Regions from separate parts of the Homo sapiens genome. Here all the other regions are linked to region 5. Evidence: promoter capture Hi-C in 16 types of primary human blood cells and fetal thymus (Javierre and others, 2016). All regions are on one chromosome and are shown on one strand. Each heading gives the region's core, a stretch centred on a gene start or on the middle of the fragment in contact. The rest is flanking DNA. Distances are from core to core; before and after follow the strand shown. Region 1 overlaps CIBAR1 (CBY1 interacting BAR domain containing 1). Region 2 has its middle 70 kb from the start of PDP1. Region 3 overlaps TMEM67 (transmembrane protein 67). Region 4 overlaps CFAP418 (cilia and flagella associated protein 418). Region 5 holds the start of VIRMA (vir like m6A methyltransferase associated). Region 6 overlaps CFAP418-AS1 (CFAP418 antisense RNA 1).

Region 1 (4,285 bases), core at 1,163-3,662, 830 kb before region 5:
AGGCCAAGCGTGGTGGCTCACACTTGTAATCTCAGCATTACGGGAGGCTGAAGCAGGAGGATTGCTTGCGGCCAGGAGTTTGAGACCAGCCTGGGCAACATAGCGAGACACTGTCTGCACAAAAAGTGAAAAAATTAGCCAGAGTACCCCTGTGGTCCCAGCTACTCAGGAGGCTGAAGCAGGAGAATCACTTGAGCCCAGGAGTTCGAGGCTACAGTGAGCTATGACTGCACTACTGCAATTCAGCCTAAGTGACAGTGGGTCCCTGTCTAAAGAGAGCAATAACATATTTTGGCCTTAAATAAAAAGTAAGCTGTGAAGGGTATGTAGAGTCAATAAAAGAGAAGTGCCTCAGGTGAGAAATGTATAAGTTTTATATATATAAAATTTTTTTTAAGACAGGGTCTCATCCTGTTGCCCATGCTGGCGTGCAGTGGCACAATCACAGCTCACTGCAGCCTTGACCTCTGAGCTTAGGTGATCCTCCCACCTCAGCCTCCCAAGTAGCTGGAATTATAGGCACGTCCCACTATGCCTGGCTAATTTTCATATTTTTTGTAGAGATGGAGTTTCGCCATGTTGCCCAGGCTGGTCTTGAACTCCTGGGGCTCAAGCGATCCGCCTGCGTTGGCCTCCCAAAGTGTCAGGTGAGAAATTTAGGGAGAATGCCCAGGCTTATAGTTTGGTCTTCTAGGTAAAAGATAATGTCTTTCATTGTAATAGCTAATCTAGAGCTACACGGTTCAGTAAAGTAGCCATTAGGCATATATAACTATTTAAAGTTCAATTTAAAAATTCAGCTCCTCGGCCACGTGAACCACATTTCAAGTGCTTAGTAGCCACACATGGCCAGTGGCTACGTTTCTGTACAGTACAGAACAGCAAGCATTTCCATCATCTCAGAAAGTTCTTCTGGACAGTGCTGGTCTAGAGCAGGAGATAGTTGGGAGCATGAATACAGCTATCACAGGGTATGCTTGTCAGGGGATTAGTTGAAGGGTAGTCATTAACAGTGTAGATAAGATCTTTCAGAGAAACTTTTTTTTTGAGACAGGGTCTCACTCTATTGCCCAGGATGGAGTGCAGTGGCGTGTTGTGATCTTGGCTCACTGCAACCTCTGCCTCCCAGGCTCAAGTGATTCTCCTGCGTCAGCCTCCCAAGTAGCTGGGACTACAAGCATGCACCACCACCCCTGGCTGATTGTTTTTTTGTTTGGAGAGATAGGGTTTCGCCATGTTGCCCAGGCTGATCTCAAACTCCTAGGCTCAAGTGATCCTCCTGCCTTGGCCTCCCAAAGTGCTAGGATTATAGGCATGAGCCACTGTGTGCAGCAGCATTGTTTTTATATATAATAAGTGGCCTAAAGGAAACCCTTTAAAAATATTTTAGGTATAAGTAGTAGAAAAGGAGATGTAAAGAAATAGAGAAGCCAGGACAATGAAAGAGTTTAGTAGCATTTAAGTTTCAGGAAGGGGGTCAGTGAGGATGAAGAGGAAAAAAAGACCTTGGTGATGTGAGGAAGAGCAATTTTAGTGGGAGGTGAAAAGCTCAATTGTAGTTTGTTGATAAATAAATGGAAAAGAAATTTGTTTAAAAAGAAAATGGAGATGAAGTCGAATATTCAAGAAAGTTTTTTAAGTAGTTATACCTTGAGATAACTAAAAAAAAAAAGACTGATCTTGAGCTTGTTTTTTAGGAGAGGGAACCTGTGACAACAAAAGCTTTTGTTGGTTGGGTTTGAAGTTTTGGTTAAAGGAAAAATGCACATTGGAACTAAATCAGAATGGTATTTTTAAAGAGAAAGAAGGAAAAGGAGGGGCGAAAAGCTTGAGGGAAAGTTCAAGAGATTCATATCTGATAACCTTACCTATTAGTCTATATAGAGAAATGGTGGGGGTAGGGTAGAAAAGATGGAGCTAGAAAGGCTTAAAAGTGGTAAACATTTGGAAATAGTGCCTTAAGGAAAGAGAACTGACAAGTCATGGCATTCCAGATCCTAGTAAGGTTGGAATCCATAAATTATAGTGGTTCCAATTTACTCTTATGTAATTTTCATAGCAGTACTGCAGAGTTAAATTGGTAAGAGTTGAGAATTTGCAGAACAGAAAGATTCAAAGGTATGAGTCGCAGCCTCCCTACTAGCTTGCATGCTCTTTGAGGGTCTCAACTTCTGCAGTTCTCCTGGCAAAAGCATTTAAATGATTGTTTCATGACTAATTACTGTTTAATATCTGTCATCATCTTACATAGTTCAAATAGAATTTTTAGCTTTCATCTTTCTAGCTTATTTTTGTTGTCTTTTCTTTTACATTTACAATAATTGGAATTTTGTCCATTTGGGGGGAGTTGTTTTTTTAAAAAAAAATCTTAACTAAGGAACTTAATTTGACTGTCTTGATTTTGTTTAGCATCTACTTTATAATGCTATTTTATCATTACAATAGGTTTTCCGAAATTCTCTGTATGCACCAGATTATTCATCTCGTTTAGATATTGTAAGAGCAAATTCAAAGTCACCTCTTCAGAGATCACTGTCAGCTAAGTGTGTATCTGGAACAGGACAGGTGAGCAAGAAACCGTACTCTAAAGGAATTTGAGCTGCTGCCTTTGGAATTGTTGAGTTCTAAAAATGTTTCCCCTCAGTCATATCACCTCGGTAACTTATCCTCCCCTGGACCTATTTCTTCTCTTCTATAAAATGACAGAAGATTGCATTAAGTGCAGCTCTATTATTTCTTAATTATCTTTTATACTGTAATTACATATTACTCTCTAAAGCATAACACTTGAGAGCAGAAGTGGAAAAGACAAAAGAATGCTAATGCAGATGTGTTATCTGCTATAATATGAAGAGCAGATTCTGAAGTCCAACTTAGGTTTAAATCTCACTATCAAAACTTAGTGGATCTCATTAAATTATAAAGTTAAATACCAAATTATACTAAAAAAGGGCTTTTACTGAACACAGAAATCATTTCATTTTTTTTCTATATCCAGAAAGCTTGAGTTTCCCAGTATCTAGAGCAGGGGCTGACAAACTTTTTCTTTAAGATGTGGAGACTAACATTCTTAGGCTTTGTGGGCCATATGGTTTCTACCCCAACAACTATAAATAACAACTGTTAAGTAACACATAAAGCAGTATGACTGTGTTCTAATAAAATTCTATTTACAAAAGCAGGAGGCTGGCTGGGCCGCAACTTGCCAAACCCTGATCTAGAGAGCTATGCCCTTTTCATATCTAGCCTTCAGAATATAAAATTCAACAAACTTATTTTCAAGATACAACTTTTAGGTAAATTTGATACCATACTTTCTATTTTCATTTGATTCTCCTGTAAGCATTTATTTTGTTTTATATGTATGTATCTCTCCCCCAACCCAATTGTATTTTTTTTATTCCGGCATTAAGTGCCTTGAACATAAATTCCATAAATTTACTTTTATAGTCCATATAAAGTTTTGACTACAACTAATAATGTCACCTTAGCTAACACTTGTATAGCACTTCAGAATGCATTATCCCAGGGTTTCTCAACCTCAGCACTGCTGACTTTGGGACAAATAATTGGGCCCACCAGGGAGGAAGAAGGGGACGGAATACTGTCCTGTATATTGTGACGACATCAAGCAGATATTAGCATCCCCCGCCTCTACCTACAACATGCCAGTAGCACACATAAACACACAGCCCCAATACTGACAAACAACAGTGTCTCTAGACATTCCCAAATGTCCCCTGGGTTAGATATAATCACCCTCAAGAGAAGTTTTAAGCAATATGCCCCACGTGGCGGCAGTCAGGCAACTTAAAACTGGTGAATTCAGATTCTCAACTCATTCCATTTAAATCACACTACTTTTACATCAGTATTTCTGTCCCACTGCCTAGCTGAAATATCCTTCTATTTTTGCCATCCATTTTATGATTCTCAAATGCTGTTTCTGTGACCCAAAATTTATTTTTAATATTCATAATATAGAGTCTATACTTTTAATGTTTTTGAAGTATTGATGGCTATCCAACTAAAATCAAATGGCTAATTACACATTTTTATTCAAAAAAATGTGATGAATGAAAAAACTGGCTTCTGAGCTTAAAATTCATAGGGAATTTTCACTACTAAAAATTATGACATGGACATTTTTTTGAAATATTTGTTGTGTGCCCTTTAATAGCATAAAAATATACCAAGAATGTAAAATTTTTTTAAGTTAGTATTTTTATTTTAAAAAGTGTGTTAACTTTTAACAGGTATCCACTTGTCGACTAAGAAAGGATCA
Region 2 (3,764 bases), core at 494-2,993, 570 kb before region 5:
TTGAGAACAGCAATTGTGGGATCAATTGGGAGGCAAAATGGTATAAGAAAAGAACTCTGGCTTTGGAGTCCAGACAAATCCAGCTTCAAAACCTTGTGCCTTAATATACGTTTCTATGATGATTTAGTTGACCTCTGAGCCTCAGTTCCCTTGTCTGTATAATCAAGATGGCAGTGCAATATTATGCAGGGTTTCTTAAGTTACAAGTGACTAAAACCCAACTTGAACTTGTTTAATCCATAAAAAGGGAATCTATTAGCTCATGTGACCCAGCCAAGAAAAAGCCTAGCCTCAGAGTTGGCTGGACTCAGGGACTGGATCCCTACCAGGTAAAGTTCTTGTCTTTGCTTACCTCTGGAAAGGTAATTTTCATAATAAATAGCAATAAAAGTGGTAATAATAAAAGGGTTTTATTCTCTCCTTTTGAAGATGGGCTGCATTCACTGGTGAGGAACATGTTCTAGGCTCAAATCTTTCCAGATGGAGACCTCTGTAGACATTTCCAAGAAATGACTCTGATTCCTTAGCCACAGACTCTTGCCCAGTTTAGGCCAATCACAGGCCAGTGGGAGGAGGTACTACACGTGGCTCAGCCTGCATCATGGGACAGCCCTGTGGGCCGGTAGTGGCATAGTGAGGCTTTGGGGAAATCACTACAAGTTGTCCCAACCTGTCCACTCCCTCACAGCACTTTTGTGATTTGAAGGAAGCCACACAGTCACATAGCTCCTCGAATAGTCTCTGTGGTGATTTTCCTCCTAGAGGAAGCTTTGGGGAGAATGTGGGCACCTCAGCCTCTCTGTTCCTTTGACCCTTCAGACTCATTAAGTGCAGTGTGGTTCTTACAGTTCTCTCCGTGTAGCTTCCTGACTCACTGCATCTGCAGATGGCCCCACCCCAGACCTGAAGCATGGCAGCGCCTTTGGTATCTCCAGGGCTCCCACAGCCAACGTGTCTTCTACCACAGGCATGCAGCTCTTTTTCTGCATCCTGTTTCATCCCTGTGGCTGTCACTGTGGTCTGTTACCTCACAGCCTCCTAAACAGGGGCCAGCTCTGATCACATTGGTCTGCTGCTTCCAAGTGACAGTGGCTCTCCATTATCTCTCAAATTAGTGGGAGACTCCAGGGCTTGGCATTCAAGGACTGCCACGATCTTATCCCAAACAACTTCCAAGCCACTCTTGCGGGCATTGGGTGTTTAGATCCTGCTACTGTAGGACAAACAAGTAGGAAAGCCTTTGGGGACCAGTGTAAGGAAATGAGCAGGAAGGAGTGAGACTGGCTGGTGGCAGGTTGCTAGGCAGCCATACAGCAAGAAAAGCAACCTGCATGAGGCAGATGATCCTAGAAGCCAGTGAGCACTCCCGCATTCTTTGATGTTTGTTTTAGCTAAGATCAGCCAACTTAGGGTACTAACCAATGGAATTTTGTGAACCCATTTAACTCTGATATTTAATATGTTGAGGCTCAAGACATTTTTCCCTCTTTGGTGGTGAAAAAACCCATAAACTACTATTGTTTTTACTGGGGAATGTGTATGGGCGATTGGTGGGAGTGGTGTAGAGTGGGAGAGATTTCCCAAGTAGCAAAAAAGAAGACTAAAATGAAAGCCATTATTCTGCTTTTCAGAACTAGTTGCTTTTATTTCATGATGGTTGCCTGGAGACTTTGTTTATATGTATTTATAAAGAAATAAATGCTGAACTTAGGCCTAGAAATCCAAATGAAAAACATGTCATTCTCAGCTTTGAGATGTGGAGTGTTTGCTCTACGAGGATAAGAGGCCATGCTTGCCTGAATTCTTCTAATTTAAGACTCTCTTTTTAATCTGCTGATGAAGTTTTACATATGTATACACACACATATATATACTCCTCCCAAACACACACACACATATTTTAAACATTTTAAGTTGTCTTTTAAATGAACAATTACTTATTGCCAACAGGAACTCATTTCATCTTAGGAATGCTAGCAAATACTCCTGGCACCTAAGCATGATTAATATAGAGAGGAACATATGAGACACAATGCAAGGGTGGCTGATAATCCAGTTCCTGCTTGTCACAGGCCTTGGCTCAGCTCAGCTGGTCATGCAGATGAAGGCCGAGGAGATGGGCAGCAACCAGAAGGGCTCCAGGGTTGGCATCTGTGCATCAGACGACTCATAGGTCAAAACCAGGTTTTTCAAACCCTGCTCTGGCTAAAAAAAGTCCCAATTTCCCTGTGCCTCACATCCTGTTCTGTTTTCATGGAAAAAAAAATTCAAAAGAAAAGCACATTGGTTGATTTCCCAGACTTGCTCTTTTTTTATTTCCTGGTTCTGAAAATTTTCTTTTTCACTCTTACTTTTATAAGCCTGCAATTAATTCAGCATTTGAAATGTGAGCTTCTGAAACAAACTCCCATGAATGCTGCATAACCATGTTTGGTTTTGCTTTTCTCTTAAACTCCCCTTCTGGTTTTTGTTAACATTAAAAACACACACACACACAAAAGATAGACGGGGACTGGGGCAGGGATTTTCCAATGTGTTTTCAGAACAACCACTTATAGTCAAACATCAGCAAGGCCAGTTATTCTAATATTGCAGTAATGACTTCCAGGCACCAAAAAAGAAGGCATGTTGCAATAACTTTAAGACAAATTGCTGATAACATAATCATTGTCTTTTCCTCCTAGAGAAGTAAGAATTTTCCAAGCACTCTTAAGGACTGTAAGCTTTTCTGTGCCCTTACAAATCATCAAACTTTAATCCTCATTAGATACTGGTCAATATTTCCAGAGGAGAGGAAGTGCCACATGACTTTAAGTATCAAGCTTATGATTACCAACAAAGGAAAACTACATACATTACATGAGTGGTAGCTGCACCGTATGCCTGGACTATAGCATGCATGTTCACCTACTCATTCATTCATTCATCCCACAGTTCTAATCAGCAATTAACATAAACAGGATTCCTGTTCTAATCGATTTTTCAGGCTGATGTGGGAGGCGATAGGAGAATGTAGATAGACATTGAATAAGTATTTACAAGTGCACTTAGTTTTACAGAGAAGGGAACAGTTCTCTATGTGATAGAACTAGCCTAGTCTAGGAGCATGTGAAAGATTGCTGCAGAGAAGGCCACCAGCCTTTTCTCCCAACCCTCTAAGCACCTGCCACTCCAAGAGATGGGTCTATTTCCCCTCCCCTTGAACCTGAACTGGCCCTGTGATTTGCTTTGATCAATAGAATGTGACAGAAAATATACCCTGTGACTTCCAAGCATAGTCATTAAGATGCCTTGTAGCTTCTGTTTTCTCCCCTTGGAAGCCAAACCCATATAAAGAGGTCCAGCTGGAGAAATCTCATAGAAAGAGAATGGGACCCAGTCTGCCATCCCAGCCGAGGTACCAAACATGTGTGTGAAGCCACTTTGGACCCTCCACTTTCAGTTAAGCTGGTCCAGTGCCACATGGAGCAGAAATTAGCTGTCCCCAATCAAACCCAACTACACTGCAGATTCATGAGCAAATGAGTGGTGGTTATTTGAAGCCATTACATTTTGAAGAGGTGTGTTACCCAGCAATTGATAACTGGAACAGAGTCAGGGAGGTTTTCTGGAGGAAGTTCTATTTAAGTTAAGTATTGAAGACTGGGCAGAATTTGACTCTTCAGGAAAGGGTTAATATTCCAGGCAGATGGAGCAGCCTGGGAAGACCCCCAAGGCTGGAGGAACATGGTGCCTTCAAGACCTAGAAGCAGCCTAGTGTGACC
Region 3 (4,120 bases), core at 1,141-3,640, 790 kb before region 5:
CCTTTTGTGCCTTTTATTTTTATATTTCATATATTACCCAAAGATTAATTTTTTAATTATCTTTACCTTTTTTTTTTTTTACTTTTTAACAATTTTTTTTTTTGTGGTGATGGGGGTCTTACTATATATCTCAAGCTGGTCTTGAACTCCTGACCTCAAGCAGTCCTCCTGCCTTGACCTCTCAATGTGTTGGGATTACAGGTGTGAGCCACCATGCCTGGTCTTATTTTTTCAGAGACGTGGTCTTGTTATGTTACCCAGGCTGGATTCAAACTCCTGGGCTTAAGCAATCTACTGCACCCAGCTTCTTAGTAGTTTCATTGGCACTGTTGCCTCCATTGAAAATATTAACTTGATTCTCACGGTATTTGGGGGGTGTATTCTTAGGGATGGGACTAATGAAAGTTTTATGAGTTGGATGGCAATATGAAATTTATTACACTTCATGATGTACTAATTTTGGTGTGTGTGTCTCTGTGTGTGCACATTCAGAATTTTTTTTCCCTGTTTTATTATAAGGATCTACACTATATAGCCACAGGAAACATAAGTGGTATGTTTGCATAAATGTTTCATACACAAATATTGTTCTAGCATACTTTTTTCAGTTAACGGTATGCTCTGATGCTCTGTTAGATTTACCTGATTCTTTTTGTTTGTTTGTTTTTTGAAACAGGGTCTCACTCTTGCCCAGGCTGGAGTGTAGTGGTGTGATCTCAGCTCACTGCAACCTCCACCTACCAGGTTCAAGTGATTCTCATGCCTCAGACACTTGAGTAGCTGGGATTACAGGCACGTGCCACCACACCCAGCTAATTTTGTATTTTTTTTTTTTTAGTAGAGACAAGGTTTTGCCATATTGGCCAGGCTGGTCTTGAACTCCTGGCCTCATGTGATCCACCCACCTTAGCCTCCCAAAGGGCTGGGATTACAGGCATAAGCCTCCTCACCTGGCCTTACCTGATTCTTTTTAATATATTCCATAGTATTTTGTAGCATGGATATACCATCATTCTGCTATTTTAAATATTCGTGTTGTTTCTAACAAATAATGCCTCAGTGAATATCCTTATATACATGTTCAAGTGTTTCTGTAAGTTAGGTATCTAAAAACAAAATTGTGGTGTTATAAGGATGTGAATTTGAAACTTTAATAGATACTACTAAAAGCCTTCTAAGTTGCAGAAACTTATCAGTAATCTATGAAAATACTTGCTTCCCCATCCTAGTGTGACAGAAATGTATAGATAAGAGGTAAGAAAATTTTTGAGGAAAAAAATACTGACTTAATTGTTACGATGACTTGGAAAATGATTTTCTATATTTTACTATGTGAGAATAGGGAAGGCATCACTTCTCTTTTTTTTTGGAGGCATGGACGGGTACGAAGGGATCACTTCTCTACACTTTATTATGGAGATACTTGTTATGCCTTTAATGCAAATAAAGTGTTTTGAGAATTAATAGAATAATAGTTACAATTGGGTTTTGTTAAATATTTTCTGAATATGTAGAAGCTTATATGTTTACTATGAGTTACATCTTTATTTTGTTTCTAAACTGTTCAGTGGAAAGAGACATTAATGGAACATTGTTGTCTCAAGCAACTTGTGAGCTCTGTGATGGAAATGAAAACTCTTTTATGGTAGTAAATGCTTTAGGAGACAGGTAAGCAGTGTGATGGGGGCTAACTTCATTAATATCATCTTATATTAGTGTATAATTTGTACTTTTAAGAGTGTTTTCCTATCATATCACTTAGTTTTCACAATAACCCAAGGAAGGATAGAAGTAGACATTAACAGATACAGAAGCTGAGGCCCAGAGCGTGAGACACACTAGGGTTCAAATTTTGGTCCAGTCTGTTAGTTGTCTGACCTTGGATAGCTCACTACTTCACAATCCCTTGTCTTTAGAATGGTAATGTTACCACCCACTTCATAGGCTGTAATGGCTCAGAAATAATAAGTAATAAAGTAAATAGATACAGTTCTTAGTATAGTGCTACATAGTAACCACTCTGTACAGGGTAGCTATTTTTGTTTGTTGTTACATAATTTGTATATAATCTGTAATATAATTATGTGCTAAGTACTGTACTAAAGCCCTTATGTATTATAATGTTACATAGAAAAACATAAATGTATGCTAATAATAGCCCAGGTACCCTGATTTATAGTCCCATTTTCTGTTGCTTCCTGTTCCCCCTTTGTGCATGTATTTGTGAAACACACACACACACACACACACACCCCTGCCTGCCTATATACTTCCCTCTAATTTAAGCACATTATACCAATTTCAGCATCTTTAATTTATTAGAGGCCTACATCATGACTTCCCTCCGGGCACAGTTTTTTCTTTAGTTTCCAAGTTTAATATGGAAAATAGTTGAGCAGCTTTTCTGAGGGCTACTTAGTGTTGGATCATCTTTTCTCTAAGGCTGACCTGAGTTATGGCATCCAAATACCAATTTTTTTTGCCCAATATTTCCCCAAGCCTAGTGTGTTTTATGTCATGCCCCAGCCCGACTCCTACCTGCTCTATTTTGCAAGTGATGAATACCCATATATTCACTCATCACTGTCCTCATTGGACCAGTACCCTCCCTCCCTCTGTCTCATTCATTAATGAAAAATATGAAGTATTTTTCTAAAATAAACAAAGATGGTAAATAGAATTTATTTAAAAGTGTTGGCTGTAGGTTTGATAGGAGCTAGAGATACATTTCTCTTCGGGTTATGCTACCTTTTTACTTTGTGGCACATAAAATAAGGAAAGTATATTTGATATAACTAATTGTAAAAATTGGGTTTCATTTATATGAGTTTGTTGCTCTCTTGTTAGTTGAGTGACTTAATTATCTTTCATACTCAGAATTATTCATTATGTACATTCCATGTAGTTAAAAAATACTCTTCTATTATTGATTAGTTTTACTTACTTTATACTTTGTAACACAGAATGGCCTAAAACTATTCAAATCAGTGTTATTTTAAATTTGTTTAACATATTTACATAATTGCTTACTGAATGAATCTACTCTAATCCATTGTTTAGAAAGACAGCTTTTCTATTAGGTTTAGTATAATTTATTAACATTTTTAAAATTATTTTTGTTATATTGAACAGGTGCGTCCGATGTGAGCCAACATTTGTTAATACCAGCAGGTCCTGTGCATGTTCAGAACCTAACATTTTAGTAAGGCTAACCAAATTGATAAAGTATATATATTTTTAATTCAGTTGCTTATGCCTTTTCATAAGCTTCTATTTTTTCCCTCATTTATTTATGAAGACAGGGGGATTATGTTTCAGCAGCACAGGGAATTTTCCTCTACGTAGAATTTCAGCTGCACGTTATGGAGAAGTTGTGAGTATGTTTCAATTTTTTTGTTCTGTTGTTAAAAAACTTTCTACATTTCATCCATTAGTAATTTCAGGCTAGAATGAGAAACCCTTTTGTGTAAATCATTTTAAAACAGAAAAAAATCAATCTAAGAAACATTAGTCTAATAATTCAGCAGTATAATTTCTAAGTACAGTACTCAGTCTGTACCGTAGCCTGTTTGTTTTTCAGTGCGCTACAGAATGTTTACACCAGAAATATCTGGTATATGTTCTGTATAGGATGCAGTATAATACATTTAAGGGCACCAGAAACGCTAGATTTGAACCCTGGATTTGCAAGTCATTAGTTTGGTATCCTTGGACCTTGAGAAGATTTCAAAACTTCATTTTATTGTCTGTAAGTTGGACATAATAAAAATACCTTTACCACAGTGCCTGTACATGGTAATCATTAGAGAAATCAGGATTATTCTTATTTGGCCAGATTTTTCCTTTTTTTTTTATTTTATTTTTGTTTGAGATGGAGTCTCGCTCTGTTGCCCAGGCTGGAGTGCTGTGGTGCAGTCTCGGCTCACTGCAACCTCCGCCTCCCAGGTTCAAGCGATTCTCCTGCCTCAGCGAGTAGCTGGGATTACAGGCACCTGCCACTACGCCCGGCTAATTTTTTGTATTTTCAGTAGAGATGGGATTTCACTGTGTTGGCCAGGCTGGTCTTGAACTCCTGACCTTGTGACCCACCCACGTTGGCCTCCCAAAGTGCTGGGATTAC
Region 4 (4,318 bases), core at 1,109-3,608, 700 kb after region 5:
TGGTCACATGCTCTGTTCAGAGAAAAAAAATTGTATATTAAAGATTATTGGTATCTTTAAATACCAATGAAAACATGGTGATTTATTTATAGGATACACCACATATTACAGATTACTGAATAAACAACAGAAAAGTACAGATTAATCTGATTATAAATCTTTATACTAAAGCATTATTTACGGTCTAAACCTTAAGGTTAAATTTTTGCACAAACCTACCTATTTTACTATGATCTTGTACACTGAACTTACACATATATTATATAGATATGAAAGAAAATAGATTTGTAGATCTTTTAATTCCATGGTTTTCAAATTACGTCTGAGGGAGATCGTCATATAAGCTAACTTCTTTAAATGCTCCCCTTCCTACTGAAATTTTCAGGAATATCTCTACCGAAGAATATGTCACATGACATTGAAATGAATCTGTTTTTCAGATAAGCTGCTTAAGCGCTGGGAAAAGATTGTATTTGTTTGCTTCCTCACAACTTGGCATAATGCATTCATTCACTCAAAAAATATTTATTGAGAGTCTGGTATGTGCTAATGAGATTCTGTCTTCATAGAGCTTTGATTGCAGTGAGAGAAGAAACAAACAATGCTCATGATAACTAGACTATATACTAACCTGGAGGGATATCTGAAGCAAGGTGCACACTAACATATATAGCATGATCCTATTTTTGTAAAAACGACCCCCACAAAAAATTCCTATATAGGTGGCTAGAAGTTTATAAGAACATGGAGCAAAATGGCCGGGCGCGGTGGCTCACGCCTGTAATCCCAGCCCTTTGGGAGGCTGAGGCGGGCGGATCACGAGGTCAGGAGATCGAGACCATCCTGGCTAACACAGTGAAACCCCATCTCTACTAAAAATACAAAAAAATTAGCTGGGCATGGTGGCGGGCGCCTGTAGTCCCAGCTACTCAGGAGGCTGAGGCAGGAGAATGGCGTGAACCCGGGAGGCGGAGATTGCAGTGAGGGGAGATCGCGCCACTGCACTCCAGCCTGGGCGACAAAGCGAGACTCTGTCTCAAAAAAAAAAGAACATGGAGCAAAATGTAGAAAGTTATATACTACACAGTAACCCTGGTTGCATCAGGAGTGGTTGAAGGGAAGGAAGGGAGATTATTATCTTTTTCTTTATACATGTTTCAATTTTGTTTTTATTCTTTCATTAAGCACATAATACTTCTGTAATGAAAAAATAAACTCATCATTAGATTTTTTTCATTTATTTCCCTTCAAAGTTCAGATACGCTAATTTCAAAATGCAAATACTTTTGGCCTGAAAATTTCTTTGAGAATAAATGCTTTGTATTTCTAAAAATACTATTAACCATAATAATAATGAAACATTTAAAACCTATACAAGTTTCATAGGCAAGTCCATATTTTCTTTCAAACTGTTAGCAATTTATGAAGTTGCATTTCTACATTTGGAAATTCAACAACTACATTTGTACACATTTGAACTCAGACTTCGAATGTACAAGTCAGGAAATGCAAATTGATAGTTCCCAAAGCTACTATGACCTGCTTTCTTATGCATATATAGTTTATTACATGATTGCACAGAGTGTTAACTTTAATGCCTTAATACATATGTGCAATTTGGCTGAATTATTGCTGTTGTGGGAACTATAATTTAGAATTTCCTGACATTTTGTATGTGTAAAATCTCAACCATAATGCTAAATACAGCTTTTTAATTTAATTTAAAATTTAGTAGTTTATTCAAATCTATTCACACCACCACATTTTCCTACAAACACTGTCCTTTGAGAAACATAAAACTAACTTGCAGCTAAGAAATCATTCCACTGCTACGATTTACTCTATTAGATCATAATTAGTACCAGTCTATGGAATAATCCAGTCTTGCAAGTTGTTTAAAAAATAATTGAGAGTAAAATTCGATTGGCTTGAAAATGCCTTCGTTTTATCTGTAGTACTTATTACTGCCACCATGCTTCCTACTACTATTCTCTCCCCTTTTCCACCAACAAGTGAAAGACAAATCTTTTTCTAAAATCTAAAGTCATTCAGCATTACCTCAAGCCAGAGCTGTATCTAGAAATCAAACAACGCAAATAGGCAGGATAGATTCAATTTCCTTTATGCCCTGGCCATGTAAATCAGTACTCTTTTCAGGGCTGAAATATATTTCTCTTTCATAACTATGTACATAAAAGCATATCTAATATAAAGTCATGACTCCAGTGAAAGACAAACTGTCAGGTCTTTCCCTCTAAAATGTAGAGGGAATCACACATAAGATGTCACCAAGAGCTTTGTTCTTTTGTCCAGCTAAAAAGTAGAATTCACTATTTTAAAGATGTTTACGACAGGAATGCCCCAAATCCAACCCAATACAATCTTCTGCCCAGACACTGTGGTTCTCTGTTAAATCCTATCAGATCTGCACAATGGGACTAAAGAAACTTGATGTCTGGATAGTTTGAAGATAACAGCAGTTCCAACAGCAACATCAGCTAAGATTCTTCCCATATTACATGGCTTTCTGCTAAGTGGTATAATAGAAAGCATAATGGATTAGGAATCAAGTAACCAATCTGGATCCTTGCTTTGCAATAACTGATATGACCTTGAGCAAGGCACCTTATTTGGGAGTCATTCTTAACAACTTTCTTTCTTACCCTCCTTAGTCAATCACTGAATTCTGTCAATTCTATATTCTAAATATTTCAAATTTGACCTTTTCCCTATAGCCATTGCTACCACGCAGGTCACAGCTCCCATCTTCTCTTTCCTGGACCACTCTAACTACTGCCCATTGACTAGTCTTCCTGTGTCCTTTCCTGTCTTGCCCCTCCAACTCCCAAGCCATTTTCTGCACAGCAGCCAACATGACTTTTTTAAGAAACACAAATCTGGCCCATTGAACACAGGACAAACTTTTTCCAAAATCCTCAAAAGGATTACAGGACCCTAAGCCAAATGTCCCTCCACTCTCTCTCCAGCCCAGTCAGTGGCCATTCTTTCCCTACTCATTATGCTCCAGCATGGCCAGATACTCTCTGTTCCTTCCACCAGAGGAACACCCCCAGCTCCTCCCCTTCTCAGGGAGCTTCTAAACATGCGTGTGCTCTGGCTCCAATGGTCACCTCTCTTTGTCTAACTCCTACTCATTTTTCATATTGTGGTTTGATTATCTGCTCAGAGAAGTATTCCCTGACCCTTCATATTAGTTAGAGTGTCCATTATCTATGCTTATAGTATCCCATATGTTCCCTTTATGTCACATATCAAATGGAAAATAAATACTTATTTGTGGAATAATCTATTTAAAGCCCATCTCCTCATCTAGACTGAAAGCTCATTGAAGACAGGAAGTGTCCATTTATTTGTTCATCAAAATTTGTTCATTTAATCCTTAGGACCTATCAGGTGGTTAATATGTGTTTGATGAATTTAACACAAGTACCTCAATCTCTTCATTTATAAAATGGAGGTAAAAATTCTTGATCAGCATCTTGGGTTTTTCTCTTGTGGAGCAGGTAAGTCAATATGCATATATAAAAAGTGCTCTGGACAGTATAAAGTACTTCACACATAAAATTTGCATATGCAGATGAACACATGTGTTTGTCTTTCTATGGGTGCAAATTCTGTTTCATGAAAGGGGCAACTAATAAAAAATCTGTGAATACAAACATTTACCTGCGCATATATATGCAACTGGTATCTCTTCTTACAGCTGTGCAGGAGGTAGAAATCAGGTATAATTGATTTCGGCATCCCACTTGGACTAATAGTATGTGATAGGAGCCTCGAGCTATGAAAACAGGCTGTTCTTTGGTTTACTGAAATTCCATCTAACATAGATTTTGTCTGTGCTACAACTAAATCAAAGTACGTACAAAATATTTCATACATAAGAAAATCTTAATGAAATGTTTACTTTTTAGAAGTAAACCAGAATGTATTTTTTTAAAAGATCATTTGTAAAAACAGAAGGCACCTGTAATTATATGTATTTCCTGAGATAAAATGGAAAACTAGTAGTAGAATAAAGATTCTTGTCCCTGAGATATAACGTAACAAGAAAGCAGGACTAATGGATGAGAAAGACACCTTAATTAGAACCCAGTGTGCCTGCAGTACCTAGCTGTCTTTTGCACCATAGGCATAGTTTTCATGTATTATTTCATTTAATCCTCAGAGTATCTCCATGAAATATGTTTAGTTTTTAAGAGTGAGGAAACAGGTTTTAGAAGATAACATCCCTTCTTAAGGCTTCAGAGCTTGTAAGTGGCAGAGTGAGGCTTTGAACTCAGGCATTCTGTCATCA
Region 5 (4,086 bases), core at 560-3,059:
GCCAATTTTCCTAAACTAGAATAGTACTAAACTAATTCATCACATGCCTCTTTCTCTTTTTCCTTTTTCTCTTTCTTCCTTTCGAGACAGGGTCTCACTCTGTTGCTCAGGCTGGAGCACAGTGGTGTGATCTTAGCTCACTGCAGCCTTGAACTCCCAGGATCAAATGATCCTTCCACTTCAGCCTCCCGAGTAGCTGGGGCAACAAGATCAAACCACCACAACTAGTTAATTTTCTTTTGTAGAGACAGGGGTTGCACTGTGTTGCCTAGGATGGTCTCAAACTCCTGGACTCAAGCAATCCTTCTGCTTCCGCCTCCCAAAACGTTGAGATTACAGGCATGAGCCACTGCGCCAGGCTCTTTCAGTTTTAACTGTTCTCTATTTCTATACACCATAAGTTTGTTCTGATCCAACTACTGCCTCCATTGAGGGTTTTCTAAATCTCGGCTAGAATGTTAGATATAGTCATTGAACAAACAGTGCTAACTGACCCACATTAAATGTCAGACCATAAATTAACTGTCAGTAAGAAATGCTAACTCAAAGTTCTCCAACTTTTGACTTTTACAAACCTATAAACCATTCGTTAAATTAGATCACAGCTGTCAACTTTTTATTTTGCCAAGTAAAGCATTATGATACAATCACTACCCACTATCATTACTATCTCATAAAAGAAAGAACATTTTAAACATTTTCCATTCAAATATTTATTGAGCACCTACATTTTGCTAATACTGTCCTAGGCACTGGAGATACAGCTGAGAAAAAGAGAAATTATATCTGTCCTCAAAAAGCTTGATACAAGAGCACACTTGATAAAAATAAAAGGAAAAAAATAATCTCCAAAGAAAGAACAGTTCTCTAAATTAAGCTTACATTAAGACAGAAAAATGTGAAGTTCGTTTTTTTTTTTAACAATTTCTCCGTAGACTTCATTCAAGTTCATTTTTGGTCTGCTTTCAGGAATCTTTAGTTAACCAGCTATGTTTAATCTACATATTGCAGGGCCAATTGTACATTAAGGGGCGCTCAAGTAGTTTTGTACAGAAATATTACTCCACAACATTCCACCTCCAACCTCAAAGGAGATGTCTGCTGATGAGTTTAACTATAATTCTCTCAACTCTCCCCTCTTCGCAAGTATTCTCCGTGAATGCATCTCATTCCTAATGTGTGAAATCTCTCCGAGAGACAAGTATTAAAGTTTCAGGCCAAATCGGAGAGCACCGTAATCCTAAACCAAGTAAGTGTCACAACTGGGGAACATAATTCCCGACAGAAAAGAGGCCAAAGAGAAAGGATTTAGAAACATCGTGATTCGGAAACCACGAAGCCAACGTAAACTGCTCAGACTCCGGCACTACTGTCAAACACTACTGGCAAACCAAGACCCCTCCCAAACGCCATCTGAGGTAAACCTGAGAACCCTGATCCTTCTCAAGGCCCAAACCTGACAGGAAAAATAAAAAATAAAGCCATGCAAGCAGAAAAGCCAACTCGACCAAAGACACGGAGGGCCCAAGTTAAAGCAAGGAAATGAAGGGGCTGCTGCAGCCCTCCCTCAGACGCGATGCTCACACAGCTCGGGGGAGGGTGTCTGTGTGTAAGCGAGAAATTAAAGAAGCAATCTGCAGAAGGAAAAGTGGAGAACGCCTAACGGTTTTTTTGTAAAGATCCCAAGTCAAGAAGCAGCGTCAGAATCAAGTCGCCAAGCCTTACCTCAGCGCTCGGGTGTTTAAAAGTATCTAAAAATAACAGCTCCATCGCCGAGTCCACCGCCATGTTTGCCGCGGGCGGGGAACAGGGGGGAGGACTTCCGGGGCAGCGCTCCAGCCTCCGCGACAGCGACTCAGGAGAGGGAGAAACAGAGGGACTTCCGGTGACCAGAGCACTAGCGCCGCAAACCTCGGCCTATCCCAACGCATCTTGTTGCCCGGAGTTGCCGGCCCCGCCTTTTCCAGCGCGGCGGAGGGCGCCCCCTAGAACGCAGAGGGGGGGCAGAGGGAAGTGAGATGGGGACTACGGGGTCTCCAGTGGTTCAAACCCTGTCGTTCCTCCGCGTTACAGAGCTACAGCGGTCTCCGGGTGGCGAAGTGCGGAGACGGGGTTTTGGAGACGGTGGATGGAGGAGGGGGAGGGAAAGCTGCCAACTTTGGATACCAACCCCGTACACCCACCGAAGGGGATGTCCCACTTTTTCCAGCGCTGGGAGCAAAAAGATAACAGTGAGCGAGGTTGAAAAGTAAGACATTGATTTAAATAGAAGAAAAACTGTTGTTTCAACCAACGAAGAGATTCTTTGTTTTCTTATCTGTAAAATGTGAAAAATCGTACCTAACCTACAGGGTGATTGTGAGGAGTAATTGAAATAAAATTCGAGGAATTGTGTAACGTGAAGTACCATGAACAATAAAACAGGAGGCAGAATGAAAAGTAAGCCTCTCTGTCGGGTGTTGATGAGCTTTGGAGCAACGAGATAAACTCAGCGGGTTTGGTAGTCTAAATGGCACAAACCCTTAGCAGAGCAACTAGGAAATAGCTTGTAAAATTACACGTGCCTACCACTCTTCTAGGAAAATTCTCGCCCACGTATCTACAAATACAAGAATATTCATAGCAAACTTTATAAGTTGCAAAAGAGCAGGAAACATAAGTGCCATTGACAGAAGTAATAAGTAAATAGTGGCGTATTTATATAATAGTATATAGCAGGTACGAAGAATGAACCAGTGCTATGTTTACTAGCATGAAAAACCCAAAAAACAGGGTTGGTGGGCGCTTTGGCTCACGCCTGTAATCCAGCACTTAGGGAGGATGAAGCGGGAGGATCGCTTGAGCCCAGGAGTTGGAGAACTGCCTGGGCAATATAGCGAGACCCCGTTATTCACAAAAAGAAAAAAAAAAGACACAAACCAAAACAAAACAAGTTTAACTCCTCTCATCGCAAGCCGGGTGCGGTGGCGTGTTCCTGTGGTCCCAACTTCTCGGGAAGCTGAGACAGGAGAATCTCTTAAGCCCAGGAGTTGGAGGCCAGTGGGGACACCCATCTCTTAGAAAAGGAAATAAAAAATATATAGTGTAAAATAACATCTATATATTTAAAAACGTGCAAAAGAATATAAAATTTTAGGAGTGTACATATGTCATGAAATTATAAAGTCATGTATTGGAGTAACTAAAATTTCAAGATAGTGGTAAACTGGAAGGAGATGTAATGGAGAAGAACAGAAAGGCTTCACATGCCTTGGTAATGTTTTGTTATTTAGGTTAATGTTAATTTCACAAGCATGCCTTATATTATTGTTTGTACCTTCTGGTATGTCTGAAATATTTAATAATAAATGAATTTCTAAAGTAAATCTCCTCTCCACATCCTTCCTCAGCCATCCAGTTTCCTCTATTAGCTAGCTATAGTTTATCTTTTATTATTTGTTCTTGCATTGATATTTATTGCTTTTAATATTTTTCTGTTTTCTGATTCTTGCCTCTTTTTTTTTTTAGAAACAGGGTCTTGCTTCGTTGCCCAGCCTGGTCTCAAACTCTTGGCTTCAAGCAATCCTCCTGCCTCAGCCTCCCAAAGTGCTGTGATTATAGGCGTGAGCCACCGTGCCCCCCCCCTTCTTCTGTGTTTAGGCTTATATGCTGTTCTCTAATTTCTACCACTGATGTTTATTTTTATTCATATTTCTTATTTATTACTATATGTATTTATATAAATTTTCCCCTAAGCTCTCCCTTAACCAATGTACTATATAGTGCTTTTATAGTTGTCATTTTTACAGTCTGATTTTCTTAGCATTGATATCCTTTTTTTTTTTACATTTTTATTTTTATTTCAACAGTTTTGAGGGAACAGGTGATGTTTGGTTGCATGGAAAAGTTCTTTAGTGGTGATCTCTGAGGTTTTGGTGCACCCATCACCTGAGCAGTGTATACTGTATCCAATGTGTATGTAGTCTTTTATCCCTCACTCCCTCGCCCACCCTTCCCCGCCGCCAGTCCCCAAAGTCCATTATATAATTCTTAGGAGTTTGCATCCTCATAGCTTAGCTCCTGCTTAATAGTGAGAACATGCCATGT
Region 6 (4,159 bases), core at 1-2,500, 720 kb after region 5:
ATGAAGGCAAAGTGAAACCAAATTGATGGAGGTGATGGGACATGTTCCACAGGCCTGGGCTTAGGTTTGGTGTCCATCAGTCTTCCATTTCCCTTGATTGGCCATATTGCCTCTTGGGAAGGAACCCAAGGTTTTATGCAGACCAATTTGCTCTATTTCCTCAGTTACCGACTCACATGTCAACCAATCTTTATGGCCTTACAAAAGGTACCTGTTGGTATCGACCTTGCCATGAACTGTCTAAGGAATATTTGGGGGCTGGAAAGGACTTTAGTGATAATGTATAAAACTCTTTCAGCTGAGGTTGCAGTGATCCGAGATCACGCCACCGTACTCCACTCCAGCCTGGGCAACATACTGTGTCTCAAAAAACAAAAAAACACCTCTTTCATTTGATAGATAAAGCAATCAAGATCAAGCCCAGAGTGGTGAAATGATTTAGAAATTCTTTGACTATTCAGAGATTTTCATTATAACCATACATTGCATTCTTTTATTTCAACATCATGATGGTCATTCTGGATAAGACTCCTTCCTCTCTCCCTCCCTCCCTGCCTCCCTTCCTCCCTGCCTCCCTACCTCCCTCCCCACCACCTTCCTTCCTTCCTTCCTTCTTTCTTTTTCTTTCCTCCCTTTCTTTCTCTTTCTTTTTTTGAGACAGGGTTTCACTCTGTTGTCCACGCTGGGGTACAGTGGCATGATCATGCCTTACCGCAACTTCTACCTCCTGGGCTCAAGCCATCCTCCCACTTCAGCCTCCCAGTAGTGTGGACTACAGGCACACACCACCATGCTCAGCTAATTTTTATATTTTTTGTAGAAGTGGGGTTTCACCATGTTGCCCAGGTTATGTCTAGTGGCCATAAAATTGATGCTATGAATTTAATGTCAGATTGCCATATATTGGAATCCTTTCATTCCTGCCATTGACATATTAATACAAATATCTCTCATGCTCTGTTCTCAACTTCTTCAACTCTGATAGCTTGTGCCACTCTACTGTACTCACATCTCTCCAGATTAGTGACTGTGTTTTGACCTCATATTATGTATGAGGACACAAACTTCTGAAGGACAGGGACTATAACTGATGCACATTTATTTCTCCTATAGGGAGGGAGAAGTATAGCTTTTGAGAACATCTAAATTGAGAGCCCATTATGATACCATTTTTTTTTGTTGTTGTGGGGGAGGTAAGAGATCCTTGTTGTATTCTAACAATGAGGCTGAGTCTCAGACATGAGTCTGAACCCTGTAGGGATAGTAAATTCTTCCTTTTCCCAGTTCTCCTTTCTTACTAATATGGGTACAGAATGGTCTGTTCAAGTCACAGAAGCTCTTGGCTGAAGAAGGAGTCTCCCTGAGCACACAGGGAGATCTTAGTTCCAGAGAGGGTATGGGGGCTACAGAAAGGGCCAGAACAGATGGCACACTCCGTACCCCAGAGCTAGGGCTAGTGTGTGCCTGGTCTGTGAAGGGAAGGAACTAGTGATTCCAGGTCCTTGGACAGATTCCTTCCGCAGCAAGAGCAGCATATTTTCTGACCCTTTGTGTTTTTCCTTTTGAAACTGACATTATCTCTAATTATATGTGGTCAGATTGTAGAAGACATTTATCATCTATTGCCAAAACATCACCCACTGCTTTGCCAGTTCCTGTTTGCCCAGCCTGGCTGTGGCTGTTGAAATATCCCATCTGCAAGGTGAACCCAATTCCTAGCTAACCCAAGACTTGCTCCTCCCCATCATGGTTAGATCTGGAATTGGTCTGGATGGCCTAGGTCTGGTACGCATTGAGCAAAATGCCACACTGCTGTCTTCTCCATGAACCCTTGTGGATGGGCTTCTACTCAACTTCTAGATTGAATTCCATTTCTGTTCTTGGGCTGAAATTTTGTCCAAACCCCAAAGCGTTGTCCAGGGCTGTAGGAGTCTTCTAGGGCTGCCGTAACAAATCACCACTTAAAACAGTAGAAGTTTATTCTCTGAGTTCTGGAGGCCAGAAGTCTGAGATCAAGTTATGGGCAGTACTATACTCCCTTTGTAGGCTCTAAAGGAGAATCTGCTCCATGCTGCTTCCAGCTTCTGGTGGCTATTGGGATTCCTTGGCATTCTGTAGCTTGTAGCCACATCAGTATAATCTCTGCCTTTGTCTTCCCATTGCCTTCTCCTCTGTGTTTATTCTATAAGGATACAGGTGATTGCATTTAGGGCCTACCCAGATTATTCAGGATAAGTGCCTCTTTTTCAGATCCTTAACTCAATCACATCTGCAAAGATTCTTTTTCCAAATAAGGTCACATTTTTAGGTTCCAGGGATTCGATGTGATTTGATATCATTTTGGGGGCCATTTTTCAGCCTAGTACAAGGGCCCTGACAAACTCCTGGCTTGTGCTGACCCCTGTTTTTGGGGGATCAGCCCCTTATCTCTTTTGGTCCTGGCCAAGGGTATGTTTTAACATGAATGAGTCTGTCTGGAATCAAATTGTTAACCACTTGACTATGACTATCTCCACAGTCATATCTTTCTAGGCCTCCATTTCTAGGCCCTTGGGTATAAGTGCCAGCCTGGATCAGATTAAGCTTGCCTTTAAATACTGTGATGTAGTCTGATGGACAAATAAGCCCAAGCTCAGGTCAGTTCTTTTAGCTTGAGCCATACTGGAATGGCTTCCATCTCCTTGTCATCCTGGTATCGAGGTCTCTGCATGCCTCTTGGCAATGATGTGTTGGCTATAGTATCATCATGTGTATAACATATTTTTTTGCATACCTACCTTATTCTGAGCTCTTTATAGAACTTATTTTACTTAATCACTGTAGATCAGGAAACAGGGACAGAGAAAGGCATAGTGGCTCATGCCTGTAATCCCAGCACTTTGGGAGGCTGAGGCTGCCAGATCACTTGAGCTCAGGAGTTGGAAACCAGTCCGAGCAACACGGTGAAACTCTGTCTCTACTAAAAAAATACAAAAATTGCTGGGTGTGGTGGCGTGTACCTGTGGTCCCAGCTACTAGGAAGGCCGAGGTGGGAGGATCACTTGAATCCAGGAGATTGAGGTTGCAGTGCGCCAAGATTGCGCCACTACACTCCAGCCTGGGTGACAGAGCAAGACCCTATCTCAAAAAAAAAAAAAAAAAAAAGGAAGTAAGGACAGAGAGGTAAAGTTATTAGTCCAAGGTCATATAACCTGGGTCTAACTGTAAAATTCATGTTCATTTTACCATGCTGTACTATATTTTACATGCTTTATTATCTATCTTATTGTTGTCTCTCCTTCTCATTAAAACAAAACAAAACTGAGACTAGGAGAGGAATAAGCTTTATTTGATTTTCTAATTACTTGTGAGGACTTGGCAGACAAATTTTCTCAACCAGACAACTTAATTCTTAAATTTTTGTTTGGGGGATCTTTCCAGTTCAAGGTCTGTTATTGCATATAAGTTTGTAATCCTCTTGCCAGTTTCATTATTCTACATTTATTGCCATGTTTTGTGTAACATGTGTCTGTATACTGTTAACATTTTCCAGTAACCATCCTACATACACAGAAAAGAGACATGAGTGTAAAGGAAAAGGCCAGCAAGTTCAGTCAGCCAGGAAAAGTTTATAAGTCTGTATTTCAAGGAAGGAGTCATGTGCTGAATTTGCACACTGGCCTGTGACTGAAATCCAGATCAATATCCATGCTCTAAGTACAGTATGACTAAAACTCTTAGAACCGAAAGCTATTTAAGTCCCTTGGTCTTTCTAGCGTAAGTTAGGAAATGTTTCCTCCTCTTCAATATTTTGGAAAGGTTTGAGCAGAATTGGTATTAGTTTGCCTTTAAATGTTTGGTAGAATTCACAAGTGAAGCCCTCAAGTGCAGGGCTTTTCTTTGTCAGGAGATTTTGGATTACTGATTCAATCTCCTTACTACTTATAGGTCTGTTCGGATTTTCTATTTCTTCATGATCTTGTCTTGGTAGGTTTTGTGTTTCTAGGAATTTTTCCATTTCTTCTAGGCTATTCAATTTGTTGGCATATAATTGTTCATAGTGCTCTCTTATAATCCTTTTTATTTCTGTAGAATCGGTAGTAATGTCCCCACTTTTATTTCTGATTTTAGTAATTTGAATCTTCTGTCTTTTCTTTCTTGTTCTGTCTAGCTAAAGCTT

What was found. Contacts are between HindIII fragments. The CHiCAGO score rates a contact against its expected background, and 5 or more counts as called.
Region 1: a fragment that was not itself captured here is called in contact with the fragment with the promoter of VIRMA in region 5 in 1 of 17 cell types (non-activated CD4 T cells); the score reaches 5.8 in non-activated CD4 T cells.
Region 2: a contact is called between a fragment that was not itself captured here and the fragment with the promoter of VIRMA in region 5, in 5 of 17 cell types (total CD4 T cells, naive CD4 T cells, naive CD8 T cells and 2 more). The highest score is 6.9, in total CD4 T cells.
Region 3: a contact is called between a fragment that was not itself captured here and the fragment with the promoter of VIRMA in region 5, in 3 of 17 cell types (naive CD8 T cells, total CD8 T cells and fetal thymus). The highest score is 6.3, in naive CD8 T cells.
Region 4: a fragment that was not itself captured here is called in contact with the fragment with the promoter of VIRMA in region 5 in 1 of 17 cell types (neutrophils); the score reaches 6.8 in neutrophils.
Region 6: a contact is called between a fragment that was not itself captured here and the fragment with the promoter of VIRMA in region 5, in 4 of 17 cell types (naive B cells, monocytes, total CD8 T cells and 1 more). The highest score is 6.1, in naive B cells.

The regions. Positions count from the first base shown.
Region 1 is chr8:93,723,949-93,728,233 of GRCh38, forward strand. CIBAR1 (CBY1 interacting BAR domain containing 1) reads left to right here. Exons shown (of 9, transcript NM_145269.5): 8 at 2,446-2,565; 9 at 4,257-4,285. It overlaps RBM12B (RNA binding motif protein 12B), which reads right to left. Exons shown (of 4, transcript NM_001377960.1): 4 at 4,207-4,285. Among named protein-coding and RNA genes, the nearest start is that of RBM12B-AS1, 14 kb to the right of the region's middle. The HindIII fragment of the contact is 1,175 bases long and covers 1,826-3,000 here.
Region 2 is chr8:93,984,946-93,988,709 of GRCh38, forward strand. No RefSeq gene overlaps it. Among named protein-coding and RNA genes, the nearest start is that of PDP1, 70 kb to the left of the region's middle. RefSeq lists enhancers at 855-974, 1,045-1,094. The HindIII fragment of the contact is 1,955 bases long and covers 767-2,721 here.
Region 3 is chr8:93,762,274-93,766,393 of GRCh38, forward strand. It overlaps TMEM67 (transmembrane protein 67), which reads left to right. Exons shown (of 28, transcript NM_153704.6): 4 at 1,569-1,668; 5 at 3,133-3,202; 6 at 3,299-3,373. Among named protein-coding and RNA genes, the nearest start is that of TMEM67, 9.4 kb to the left of the region's middle. The HindIII fragment of the contact is 1,750 bases long and covers 1,516-3,265 here.
Region 4 is chr8:95,252,272-95,256,589 of GRCh38, forward strand. It overlaps CFAP418 (cilia and flagella associated protein 418), which reads right to left. Exons shown (of 6, transcript NM_177965.4): 5 at 1-12. Among named protein-coding and RNA genes, the nearest start is that of CFAP418-AS1, 14 kb to the right of the region's middle. The HindIII fragment of the contact is 7,599 bases long and covers 1-4,318 here.
Region 5 is chr8:94,551,660-94,555,745 of GRCh38, forward strand. It overlaps VIRMA (vir like m6A methyltransferase associated), which reads right to left and starts at 1,810. Exons shown (of 24, transcript NM_015496.5): 1 at 1,726-1,810. The coding sequence starts at 1,788. VIRMA-DT (VIRMA divergent transcript) reads left to right here and starts at 2,054. Exons shown (of 2, transcript NR_183271.1): 1 at 2,054-2,248. RefSeq lists an enhancer at 1,504-2,123. The HindIII fragment of the contact is 4,366 bases long and covers 876-4,086 here.
Region 6 is chr8:95,275,075-95,279,233 of GRCh38, forward strand. The region is part of intron 1 of CFAP418-AS1 (CFAP418 antisense RNA 1); the gene reads left to right. Among named protein-coding and RNA genes, the nearest start is that of TRS-AGA2-5, 7.4 kb to the left of the region's middle. The HindIII fragment of the contact is 2,661 bases long and covers 1-2,581 here.